Linked DNA regions of Homo sapiens: region 1 is linked to region 2. Evidence: promoter capture Hi-C in 16 types of primary human blood cells and fetal thymus (Javierre and others, 2016). All regions are on one chromosome and are shown on one strand. The core of a region is centred on a gene start or on the middle of the fragment in contact, and the rest is flanking DNA. Distances in the headings are between cores, read along the strand shown. Region 1 has its middle 21 kb from the start of POU2F2-AS2. Region 2 holds the start of LIPE (lipase E, hormone sensitive type).

Region 1 (5,563 bases), core at 2,893-5,392, 260 kb after region 2:
TCGCCGCTGCTGCCCCCGGGCCAAAAAATAAAGAAAAGAAAAAGAGAAAAAAAACAATACCAATAAAAAGACGATGAAAATAAAACACATCGCAACCAGGGCCACTGAACACAAAAAGGAGCGAGGACAGAGAAGAGAGGCGAGGTGGCATCTGCTCCCGGCTGGCTGCGGCGCTTCGGAGAGGCTCCCCGGGCTGGGCGGGACCCCCATTTTGACCCTGCATTTGAGGAAGGGGCGACTGTGGAGAAAATGAGGCGAGAGGGGGTCAGGGCTGGTGGCGGTTCCGCCTGTTTTTTTTTTTTTCTCTCTCTCTCTCTTTTCCTGGAGGTGTGGGGGCCGGTTTAGTACGATGATGGTGAGGATATTGGTCGGTGATGCTGTCTGAAGCTCCGAAGCAAGCAGGGTGCAATGGGGGGGGAGAGGTAAGAGGGCACAGGGAACGAGAAAGGGCTGGGTGGTGGGAATGAGGGGTGAGAGAAAGGAACGGGGTGCCTTGGAGAGCAGAAACGGTGAGAAATAGGAAAAAGCAGCCGGGATGGGGCACTCAGAGGCGGTGGCATCTCAGGCAGGAGGAGAGGTGGAAAACGGAGCTCCAGGGCCCCAGAGTGAGGTTGGGGAGCCGCGGTGCACCCCTCAGCTCTCTGGACAAAGTCTGTAACTTGGGGAACCCCTTCGACTGCCTGCTGCCTCTTTGGTCTCTTTTCTTTCCCTTTTCATGTCCTTTCTCAGCTCCTTTATTTCCATCTCCTTTACTGTTTTTTCTTTCTCACTGTTTTTCAGTTTCTATCTCTTCCTTTTCTCAATAAAAGCTCTTTCTCCTCCTCCCCACCCCTTAGTTTTTCTTTTTCTACCTCCCTTATCTCCACCTCCTTCCCTTCTTTTTTCTCCGTTTTTCCCTTCCCCCTTTCCCCCTTTCTTTTATTCTTCCCTTCCTGCCACTCATTTCCCCTGTTGCCAGCTCTTTCTACCCCCTCCCTCAGTTTCATTTATTCATCACTCTTGCTGCTCTGGCCTTCAACAGGGTGCCAGGGAAAGGGGCTCCATGCAAAGGCAGGAATCCCCAACTTCCTACCAGAGCCTAACCCCTGTTCTGAAACCCCATGTATTTCTACCCTCTTTTTTACCCTGAGTGGGGGTTTGGGTCTGTCCCCTGGGTTCTAGTGCCACCCCCTACTTCCTTGTGGCCTCCTGGAGAAGTCCTGCTGGATGCTCACTGGGGCTCTGGGAGGGGGAGGGGAAGATCTTAAGTGAGGGCTCATGGCTGTCGACTCAGCCCCACTGAGAAGGGTGTGGACAGAGAAGAAAATGACATGGATGCCTAGCGGGAAGTGAAAACGGGAGGAAATTGGGGCGGAAGTCCATCTGAGAGAGTCCTTAGAGCTTTTGAGTCCAGGTAAAAGATCCTGAGAGAAAGCCTTTGGCCTGATGACCACTCCCCACTTTCTGCCTCCTTCCTGGGGCCTGTGGAGTTGGGGAGTAGGTCCTGGATTTAGAGAAAGACCCAATCAGCCGCTTCGCTCAGTAGCTTTTAGTCTCTTGCCATCTTGTCAGGTGGATTTGTCCTTCCACCCCCCAGGATATAAGGGGAAGGTACAGAGTCAGTGTGCAGTGGGGGGCTGGTGGGTACAGAGTCAGTGTGCAGTGGGGGGCTGGTGGGTACAGAGTCAGACCATGACGGCAGCATGCATGTGTATAAGGCCTGCATGTGTGGTGAGATGTGTTCAGGAAGGACTAACTGTGTGTGCTGGGCCTCGAAGCCTTGGCAGAGTGAGGAGCCAAAGGTGTAGAATCGTGACATGTGTTTTCAGTGGGGGGTTGGGTACTGGGGGTCCCCATCATGGGTGACATATGTGCAGAAGGGAGTCAGTGCATATTTGTACTGATCTCTCCCTCGTCCTGATGTTTATGTATCACTCGCTATGTGTGCATTCAGGAGGCCCTCTTTGGCTCTGTGCGTGGAAGCCGTCCACGCGTGTGCAGGCCCATGTGCCGAGTCTGGCTTCAGCAGTGGACACGTGACACTTTGTATGTGCAGCGTGTTTGGAGTGAAGGCTCTGTGTATGGGTACTAGGTCTGAACATAGTGTGTGCACACAAGGGTGCACATCAAAAAAAGTCACATATGTGAAAGTACCATTTCTGCATGGAGATATTATTATTGTTATTGCTCGGGGTCTCTGCGTGTCCTGGGTAAGAGGGAGGGTGGGTTTGTGAAGCAGGGTCTGGGTAGAGTGATGAGAGATGTGTGAGTGCACAGAGGTCGCGGGCGTATGGCTGAGTTTGACGGCATGCTTGCACAGCAGCCTTGAAGCTGGGTTCAAGAAAACAAAACAAGAAAAGATCCCCTCTCCCCACAGTCTATCAGCCCATGAAAAGCTTCCCTGGACCTTCTGTAGTAACAAAGCGTCCCATGTCAGGGGGTGACAGGCAGGCCAGGAGTAAAGCCGATCAGGGCCATAGGCAGCATCTCCAGTTGCTGATAATGCGATTCCACATCTACTTCCTGATTTATGGGTAATGCTGGACAGAGGCCCATCCTTGCCGTTGGAGAGGTCCAGACCCCCATTTCCCTGAGGCTGTGCTGGCATGTGCTGGTGAACTCTGTGGCAGGTTGCAGTGTCATCTTTGGGGGTCTTGGTTGCGCTCACTTCCCTCTGCTAGTCTTTGCAGGGAAAATGGAAGGTGTCTGTGTCAGGGCTGTAGTAGGGAAAGAACTCAGCCACAGTGTGTGTGTATGCACACACCTATACCCATGCTGTGTGTGTAGAGGTTGTTAGCCTATACGTCCTAGACAGCATGCTGGCCAGGTGTTTTTTTTTTTTTTTTCTAGCAAGTCCGTCAGTGGCCACTCCAGGCCACCTCCATTCTGGTTCATATACACTCCCTTCTTGTATGCAGGGCCTATAAGCCAGAACTTCTTCCTCCACCAATGTGACAGCAAAGCAAGGGCCCCAACCTTAGCACCCCACTGGGTAGAGCTTTTCATAGCCCTGGTGCATAATCATAATGTGTAGAGGCATGACTTGCAACGAGGGGAGCAGGGACAGATGGCCACACCAGGGGCTACTTGGACATCGATGATGGCAAGGGAGAAGTTTCCATCTCTGGCATGTGCTGGTTAATTTCCAAGATATTTCAGGATGGAGATGGTTGAGAAACCCAAGTGTGAAGAGTTGTTAGAAGACAGAGTGGGTGTAAGGCCTCCTCAGATGGATGTCTATTCCTCCTTCTAAATATATTTCACTCATCATTTTTCCCTTGGGCTCAACACCTCTTGATCTAATAATAATAATGACCATGATGTCCCTTACACCCACCTCGCTCTCACAGCAGCCCCAGTGGTGTCCCTCTCACAGATGAGAATTCTGAGGCCCACATCATTTGCTCAGCCTGTCAGCAACCATGCTGGCGCTAGAACCAAGGTCCTCCTCATACCGAGCCTTGTCTGTCCTTATAGGTCTGTCCTATCCCATTAGCTGTCCCAGCGCCATTTCCTTTCACTGGCTCTGTCTCTTCCCCCACTTCCTCCCTGCCCCCTGAGATGTCCATCCACAGACCTGTCTCCCAGGACCTGTCGGGTGGATGGATGCCTTATGTGGTTCAGTGAGGGCTCTAAGGATGTGGGTCTCGCTTTATATCCTGAAGGGAGAGCCAGCAAATGAGCATGGTTGAGCTCGTTCCATCAGTGATGGTTTGGGGCTGGGCCTGTTCAAACACAGGGGTTTGCATGAGCTTATGGTCCCCCCTACCCCTTTTGGTGAGCCCTGTGTCACCTTTTCAGATCCACATGGTGGCCTTGGGAGGCAGGTGCATTTTCCCTCACTCGATCACCACCCCAACTTCATTAGATCCTCGGGACAGGCAGCTTTCCCAGCTCTGACGCATTCGGAAGGAGGCTGAAGGTGGTGGCTCCACATGCAAGGTCCCTGCATTCAATAGGTATTTATTGAGTGGTGTGAATCACTGAACAAATAAAGTCCAGTGAGTTCCCTGAGGTAATCGGGCAATGGTGGTATGATCACTCCTTAACCTGAAAATGATCGCTAGGCACTGACCATGGGCCAACAAAGGCCTAGACTCTGAAGCAGAACCAATCCCAGCCTTAGACAGGATTCTGGGCGCCTGGACTGTGAGCACAAAGGGAGTTTCCAGGTCATTAGGAATCTGGGGAATGAAGATGGTGTGGGTTTAGACAGGGAGGTGAGTCTTTAAGGATGCTCAGATACTGAGAAAAGCAGACTGGTGGCAGGGCATAAAGATGGCAGAGGAAAGTGAGGAGAAAGCAGCCCAGGTTGGAGGTGTAGTCTAAGAGTAGAGGTTGGCACAATGTTGCAAGGCCCTGTCTGTGGAGGCTCAGCTGCTGCTCTGAGAAGTTGGAACTTGATCTGGCTGGCAGCGGGGAGCTATTATGCCTGCAATCACACACACATACACATATACACATGCATCTCGTGACAACGTACTTTGGACAATACGGACTTGTCTATGAGCATGAGTGTGCTTGTGCACACACACACAGGGACCTTTATTCTGGCATCCATTCAGGGTCTCCCTCACAGAAACCAACAAGGTTGGGGGTTACTTTAGTCCACACTCTCAGGATCCTATAAAGTATAGGGCTGTGGCCCACACACGCAAGTATAAGAGCAGACTGGGGACCCTCCCCCACCCGGGGTGCAGACTCATGTGGCATTCACAGACTTAATCCGCCGCAGTGAGGCCAGGGAGGCAGCATCTGTCACTTTCACAAACACAAGCAACGGAGTCTGAGAGAGGCACATTCCACTTGCTCACAACTGCTTGAGAAACAGATGCCTGTACCGCACTGCCCCCCATGCCCAAAACAGACACGGCCCCTCATGGCCCCCCACGCCAAGCCCAGGCCAATACACCAAGTCACTCCTGCATTAAAGTGCACACACACACACACACACACACACACACACACACACACGAAGCGCAGCCCCTGACATTCCATCTCCCCATATATACAACCATATACTCAGGCACTCTGACTTTAAGCACAGCTGCTGACTTCCTATCCCCTTATTCACACACAGACACAGACACACACGCATACACACACACACTCATTTTGACTTAAAGCACAGCTATAGCCATCCCACCACCCATACACATATACCTACAAGCGGACTTCCACACATACTCAAACACACAGCCTCACAATCCACCAGAACTACTGTGGCCAGCGGTCATTGAAGAATGACAGCCTGAGCAGTGTGCTGAGGGGAGGGTCGCCCTGAGGCATGGGCCGAGGGTCATACAACAGGGTACATCGGAATCCCTTGAGGAAAAGGTCAGGCCGACTCCAAAAGGGTTCCATTGGTCCGGACGGTTCTGCCAGGTAAGGGAGATTCAACAAATGCAGGCCAGAGGCAGGAGCCGACTAATGGCCGAGGCCGCTGATGGCCGAGATGGCTGGTCAGCGAGGAGGGGAGGCTCGACAACTGATGTGACTCAGAGCTGGACAAATGATGGCGCATTTGGCTGAAGCTGGCTGGGGGCCCATGACCAGAGACCAGGCAGCCATTCTCGCCTCAGCG
Region 2 (6,151 bases), core at 748-3,247:
TGCACTCCAGCCTGGGCAACTGAACGAGACTCCATCTCAAAAAAAAATTAAATGTGAAGGCCAGGCATGGTGGCTCATGCCTGTAATCCTAGCACTTTGGGAGGCCGAGGTGGGTGGATCACATGACGTCAGGAGTTCCAGACCAGCCTGGCCAAAATGGTGAAACCCTGTCTCTACTAAAATACAAAAATTAGCCAGCCATGGTGGCAGGCACCTGTAATCCCAGCTACTTGGGAGGCTGAGGCAGGAGAATCACTTGAACCCGGGAGGCAGAGGTTGCAGTGAGTTGAGATCCTGCCACTGCACTCCAGCCTGGGCAATAGAGCAAGACTCCGTCTCCAAAAAAAAAAGAAATGTTAAAAATGGTTTTAACACTAGCCTCTCCCCTTTATTTGCACCCTAGGACACCAAAGGCACCACAGAAAGCCAAACAAGCATTCCAGAGCCTGCCAGCAATTTCTCAAACAATGTCAGCTAAGAAGCTTTGCTCTGCCTTTGTAGGAGCTCTGAGCGCCCACTCTTCCAATTAAACATTCTCAGCCAAGAAGACAGTGAGCACACCTACCAGACACTCTTCTTCTCCCACCTCACTCTCCCACTGTACCCACCCCTAAATCATTCCAGTGCTCTCAAAAAGCATGTTTTTCAAGATCATTTTGTTTGTTGCTCTCTCTAGTGTCTTCTTCTCTCGTCAGTCTTAGCCTGTGCCCTCCCCTTACCCAGGCTTAGGCTTAATTACCTGAAAGATTCCAGGAAACTGTAGCTTCCTAGCTAGTGTCATTTAACCTTAAATGCAATCAGGAAAGTAGCAAACAGAAGTCAATAAATATTTTTAAATGTCACAGATCAAAATTGTTTCCTTCAAATGGGGTCTGCCAATTCACAACCAGATGACCCATTTTACCCTATTCACTGCAGACTGAATCCAGATTCTACACATACTTATCCCCACCAAGACCCTCACTCTGTCTCCATTGGCCTACTTGTTCATCTTTCACTCATTCGACAAATCTTTCTGAGGTAAGAGCGAGGTGGGACAAAAAAAAAAAAGCATACCAATGAACCAGACACGGTCTTATTAAAGATAATATAGGTTTAAAAAAAAAACTTGGCACAGTTTCTTAGCACTTAGGCAGCCTTTGGTATTTATGACTACTATCATCACCATTACCACCATCATTATCAGTCATTGTCATCAGTGGTCACTGTCTTCTGTGAGTTTCCAATCTAGTACAGGATCATAGTTCAGGGCTAGAGAGATGGCATGGAGTATCTCAAATGCCATTCAGAAGGGCCTCAAGCTATAAAAGTGGGAAGGCATGACATTAGTTTTTAACATGAGAGTTAAATGATCAGAATGACAATATAAGGAAATTAAACTAGCAACCTGGCTGGGCGTGGTGGCTCACACCTGTAAACCCAGCACTTTGGGAGGCCCGGGGGCGGGGGGTGGGGGTGGATCACTTAAGGTCAGGAGTTTGAGACCAGCCTGGCCAACATGGCAAAACCCCATCTCTACTAAAAATATAAAAATTAGCCGGGCGTGGCAGTGCACGCCTGTAGTCCCAGCTACTTGGGAGGCTGAGGCAGGAGAGTCGCTTGAACCCAGGAGGTGGAGGCTTCAGTGAGCCAAAATGGTACCACTGCACTCCAGCCTGGGCAACAGAGAAAGACTTGTCTCAATAAGTAAATAAATAAATAATCTGGCAACCATTTGTAGGAATGAACAAAGAGGGAAATAATTATTACAACAACTACAGAGACTGCCCCCTGAATGACGCTTTCCTCAGACATTAGAAGGAAAGAGAAAAAAGGAACACTCATCCAGCATCTGGCTTCTGTCATCCCAGATGACACGGAGGCCTAAATTGGGATGCTTGCCTTATGAGAAGAAACATTTTAACGGAGTGGTGGGTGGGGTGGGGCCCTATTTATGACACAAGAGAGCAAGCCCCTCCCTTCTTGTAAGAGAGTGCTAGGCACATAGCCTCCTCCTATTCCTAATCCTCCCACCAAAGAAAGAGGCACAGAGTTCATTACTTAGTGGGGGCCAGCTGTGATCGGCCAACTGCCAGCTGCCTTAAAAAGGAAGACCAGTGATGCTAGGATGGAGTGAAACCCAAGAGGAAGTGCCATCATGAGGAATCAATGAGAGATCTGTGAAGAGAGAGGGCTGGGTGGGAGCCCAGAAGGATAGAACCTGGAAGATCAATATCTCCCGTGAGGGAAATAACAATGGAGCCAGGTTCTAAGTCAGTGTCTAGGTCAGACTGGCAACCTGAACCACACCAGAGGCCTATAACCCCGCTAGAGCCTGGGCCAGAAAAGACACCCATAGCCCAGCCAGAATCGAAGACTCTGCAGGGATCCAATACCCAACAGAAGCCTGCTTCAAACCAAAGACCCCTCACCCAGCAGGAGACCCCTGCACAACATGATGCTGAATCCCAGAAGGAACCTAGAGCCCAACAAAAATCTGCTTCACAAGAGGAATTTCTTGCCCCACAGAAGCCCGCACCACAGCAATCACCTTACATCCAAAGGGTGCTGCTCACTCAACAGGAAGCTGCCTCCCAGCAGGGACCTGGGCTAGGAAAAGAATCTATAACTCAACAGGAGCCAGCATTGAGACAAAGACATGTAGCCCAGCCAGGGCCTGGGCCAGGAGAGCCACCTCCAGCTCAACAAGAAGCTGAATCAACACCTGCGGCCCAGGCTAAACCTGGAGCCAAAAGGGAGCCATCTGCCCCGACTGAATCTACGTCCCAAGAGACACCTGAACAGTCAGACAAGCAAACAACGCCAGTCCAGGGAGCCAAATCCAAGCAGGGATCTTTGACAGAGCTGGGATTTCTAACAAAACTTCAGGAACTATCCATACAGCGATCAGCCCTAGAGTGGAAGGCACTTTCTGAGTGGGTCACAGATTCTGAGTCAGAATCAGATGTGGGATCATCTTCAGACACAGATTCTCCAGCCACGATGGGTGGAATGGTGGCCCAGGGAGTGAAGCTAGGCTTCAAAGGAAAATCTGGTTATAAAGTGATGTCAGGATACAGTGGGACGTCGCCACATGAGAAAACCAGTGCTCGGAATCACAGACACTACCAGGATACAGGTGAGTGTGAATCTGGAGGAATTGAAGCCTCTCAGGGACAGTCATTCATTTACTTAAAAAATACTAAAAACTTACGGTGTATCAGGTTAGCTCTGGTCATCCTTCAACAATCCTGAGATAAAGATCAACATCCCCATTATTAAAAAAAAAAAAAAAAAAAAAAAAGGCTGGGCGCAGTGGCTCACACCTGTAATCCCAGCACTTTGGGAGGCCGAGGCAGATGGATTGCTTGAGGCCAGGAGTTCAAGACCAGCCTAGCCAAGATGGTGAAACACCGTCTCTACTAAAAATACAAAAATTAGCCAGGCGTGGTGGCAGGTGCCTGTAATCCCAGCTACTCGGGAGGCTGAGGCAGAGAAACACTTGAACCCGGGAGGCAAAGGTTGCAATGAGCTGAGATCGTGCCACTGCACTCCAGCCTGGGTGACAGAGTAAGACTCCATCTCAAAAAAAGAAAAAAACAAAGTCTCACTCTGTCGCCCAGGCTGGGGTGCACTGGTATGATCATGGCTCACTGCAGCCTCAAACTCCTGGGCTCAAGCGATCCTCATACCTCAGCCTCCGGAGTAGGTGGGACTACAAGTGCACCACCATGCCCCGCTAATTTTTACATTTTCCGTAGAGACGTGGCCTCGCTATGTTGCCCAGGCTGGTCTCGAACTCCTGGCCCCAAGCAAGCCTCCCACCTCAGCTTCCCAAAGTGCTGAGATTACAGGCATGAGCCACCGAGCACCTGGCCAACATCCTCATTTTAGAAATGAGGACATCAGGTAGAAAATAAAGAAGTAAGGGTTCTTGCACAGGGCCATGCAGTTAGGAAGTGGCAAAGTCAGGATTTGAAGCCGGGGTCTTTCTCCCCTGGACCAGGCTGCCTCCCTATAGAGGATTTGGGGAAAATCAAATCCCAGAGTGGGAAGGCACTCTGAGCTAGGGACCAGGAGACCAGGAAAGCGGCCCTCTTGCCAGTGTTCATTCATCCATCCACAGAAACTGACTGAGCACCAGCTCTGGGGTAGACACGGGCGTAAGTCCCAGCAATACAATACAAAGACGGTACCTTACCCTTCTGGAGTTTCCAGGCAGGCTAGGCAGAACATTGGGGCATCAACAGTCTCTCAGTTTACCAGGTCTGTCCTCTTCTGCCAGGAAGATACCTGCTCCCTGCCAGGCTGCCTCCATAGGGGACTCAGTCCAGCCAGGCGGAAGGGCCTTGCGGGTTGTGTTCTCAGCAAGGAGGAGCCGGGAGAGAGGTGCGGGAGCCGCCAAGGTCTCAGGCAAGGTCAGGGACTGACGGCAGGAAAGTTGGGGGAGCAGCATCAGAGGATAACGGGCCCAAGGCTCTGGGCTCACCGCAGGCACTCCCTCGCCTTCTCCGCCTCTTCCCGGGGCCCAGTGCTGCCCCCTGCCTGCTTCACAGGAGCCCCAGGAAGCTCCGATCTTCCTTCTCTAGGCTCAAAACCCCTGCCATGGAGAAGGGGGGAATACAAGTTTTATCTATGGAACTGGAGGTTACTTGTTGAAGTCCCCTGATGTGGGGGGAAAAACCAACGCAGCCCTAATCCTGAAGCTGAGGGTATCTGTGAGGCCCTGGTCCAGAGGGCAGGCAATGGCGGCCCCTCCGCCCAGAGGCCAGTCTGTCTTGTCTCTCCCACAGCTGATAAGAGAGTAACGCGTTTCTCAGCGCCGGGGCTGCTGGGTATGCTTTGAGAGGGAAGGAAGAGGGGCGGCAGGCAAAGGCAGGGATTGAGGCCTGCTCTCCCCAGTGCTGAGGATAGAAAGCTGTTTCTCCAGGCCTCCAGAGCACAGTCTCAAGGGATGCCCGCCCCACACCACCGCGGCGGGCGAGGTTGCCTTTCAGGCGGTCCAGAAGCAGTTGGCTGTGTGCGTGTGAGCAAGGCGGTCCAGAAGCAGTTGGCTGTGTGCGTGTGAGCAAGCCTCGAGCCTCCTCTGTTTCCCGCCATTTCTCAAGCATGCGTCGTTCCCTCTACCTCCGCTCTTGGGCCGGCCCGCGGCCTGAAGCTAGTGCGCAGGCGCCGAGCGTTCTCCTACCACCATCCCCCACCCTCATTATCGGGAGCATGGATTAGGGGGCGGAGACAGAGGGAGAAAGATCCCCCAGGAAAAGCGCAATAGGAGAACTAGGAGACAGGAGAGGGAAAGCGGGGCTCCCTCCTCCAACGGCTCTCAGGCACAGCCACGCCTCCAGCGCTGGCGCCCCGCCTCGTCTTTGAGTTGGCAGAGGACCTGGCCCGCCCCCACCCCAGGCAGAGGCTCAGAGGCGCCCCACTTTCCCCCTTCAAAAGGCGGGCCGGGCCGCGTGCTAGGGCATCCCTCCCTGGGAAGGTGAGTGGGATGGCGAGACTGAGCCAGCACATGGGAGGCTTCCCAGCACGTGGGAAGATCGGGACTTCCCTGCTGGGGTGCTCCCCGCGGGGCTCCGCACTAGTCCTGCCCGAAGGACGCTTTTCGCCACCCCCGGGGTTGCCTTTTTGTTGGCCGCGAGCCCTTTAATGCGCGGTAGGGGGCGGAGCCAGATCTTAAATTCTGGCGGTTGGGGGCGGAGCACGGCAGCGGAGGGAGACCAGAATTGGTTAGGGAGCTGGACCCAGAGAAGAGCAAGCTCGGGATTGGGTAATAGGGGGGCCCGACAGTAGTGTGTAGCGAGGATTGGCCCTCCGGGCAGGGCCTCGCGGCTGGAATTGGCCCCCGCGGGAGGACCGCGGGGAATTGATGGAGTTGGCCGGGGGAACGGAGCCCGCCGAGGCCGCTATGGCCCCGGCCTCGAAGAATGCCAAAGAGGGCTCAAGGAGCCACGGTCGCCGGCGGTGGCGAAAAGACAAGGCCAAAGGTGAGCGCGCGGAGACCGGCAGCAGCCCGGAAGGAACCTCGTACATCCTACGGGGCAGTGGGGACAGCGTGGACTGGCCCACTGCCACAGGGAGTTGGGGGGGTCCGCGGACTGGCCCATTGCCGCTTGCGGGGACAACGGGATGATCCATTGTGAGAAGGGGGTGATGTGACAGCCGAGAGGCC

What was found. Contacts are between HindIII fragments. The CHiCAGO score rates a contact against its expected background, and 5 or more counts as called.
Region 1: a contact is called between a fragment that was not itself captured here and the fragment with the promoter of LIPE in region 2, in 1 of 17 cell types (neutrophils). The highest score is 6.5, in neutrophils.

What each region holds. Positions count from the first base shown.
Region 1 is chr19:42,170,822-42,176,384 of GRCh38, reverse strand. It overlaps a transcript of POU2F2 not described here. Among named protein-coding and RNA genes, the nearest start is that of POU2F2-AS2, 21 kb to the right of the region's middle. RefSeq lists an enhancer at 1-200. The HindIII fragment of the contact is 3,530 bases long and covers 2,378-5,563 here.
Region 2 is chr19:42,423,234-42,429,384 of GRCh38, reverse strand. LIPE (lipase E, hormone sensitive type) reads left to right here and starts at 1,997. Exons shown (of 10, transcript NM_005357.4): 1 at 1,997-3,118. The coding sequence starts at 2,236. CXCL17 (C-X-C motif chemokine ligand 17) reads left to right here. Exons shown (of 4, transcript NM_198477.3): 4 at 404-1,107. The coding sequence ends at 501. The region is part of intron 1 of LIPE-AS1 (LIPE antisense RNA 1); the gene reads right to left. RefSeq lists enhancers at 5,806-5,875, 6,066-6,145. The HindIII fragment of the contact is 12,356 bases long and covers 485-6,151 here.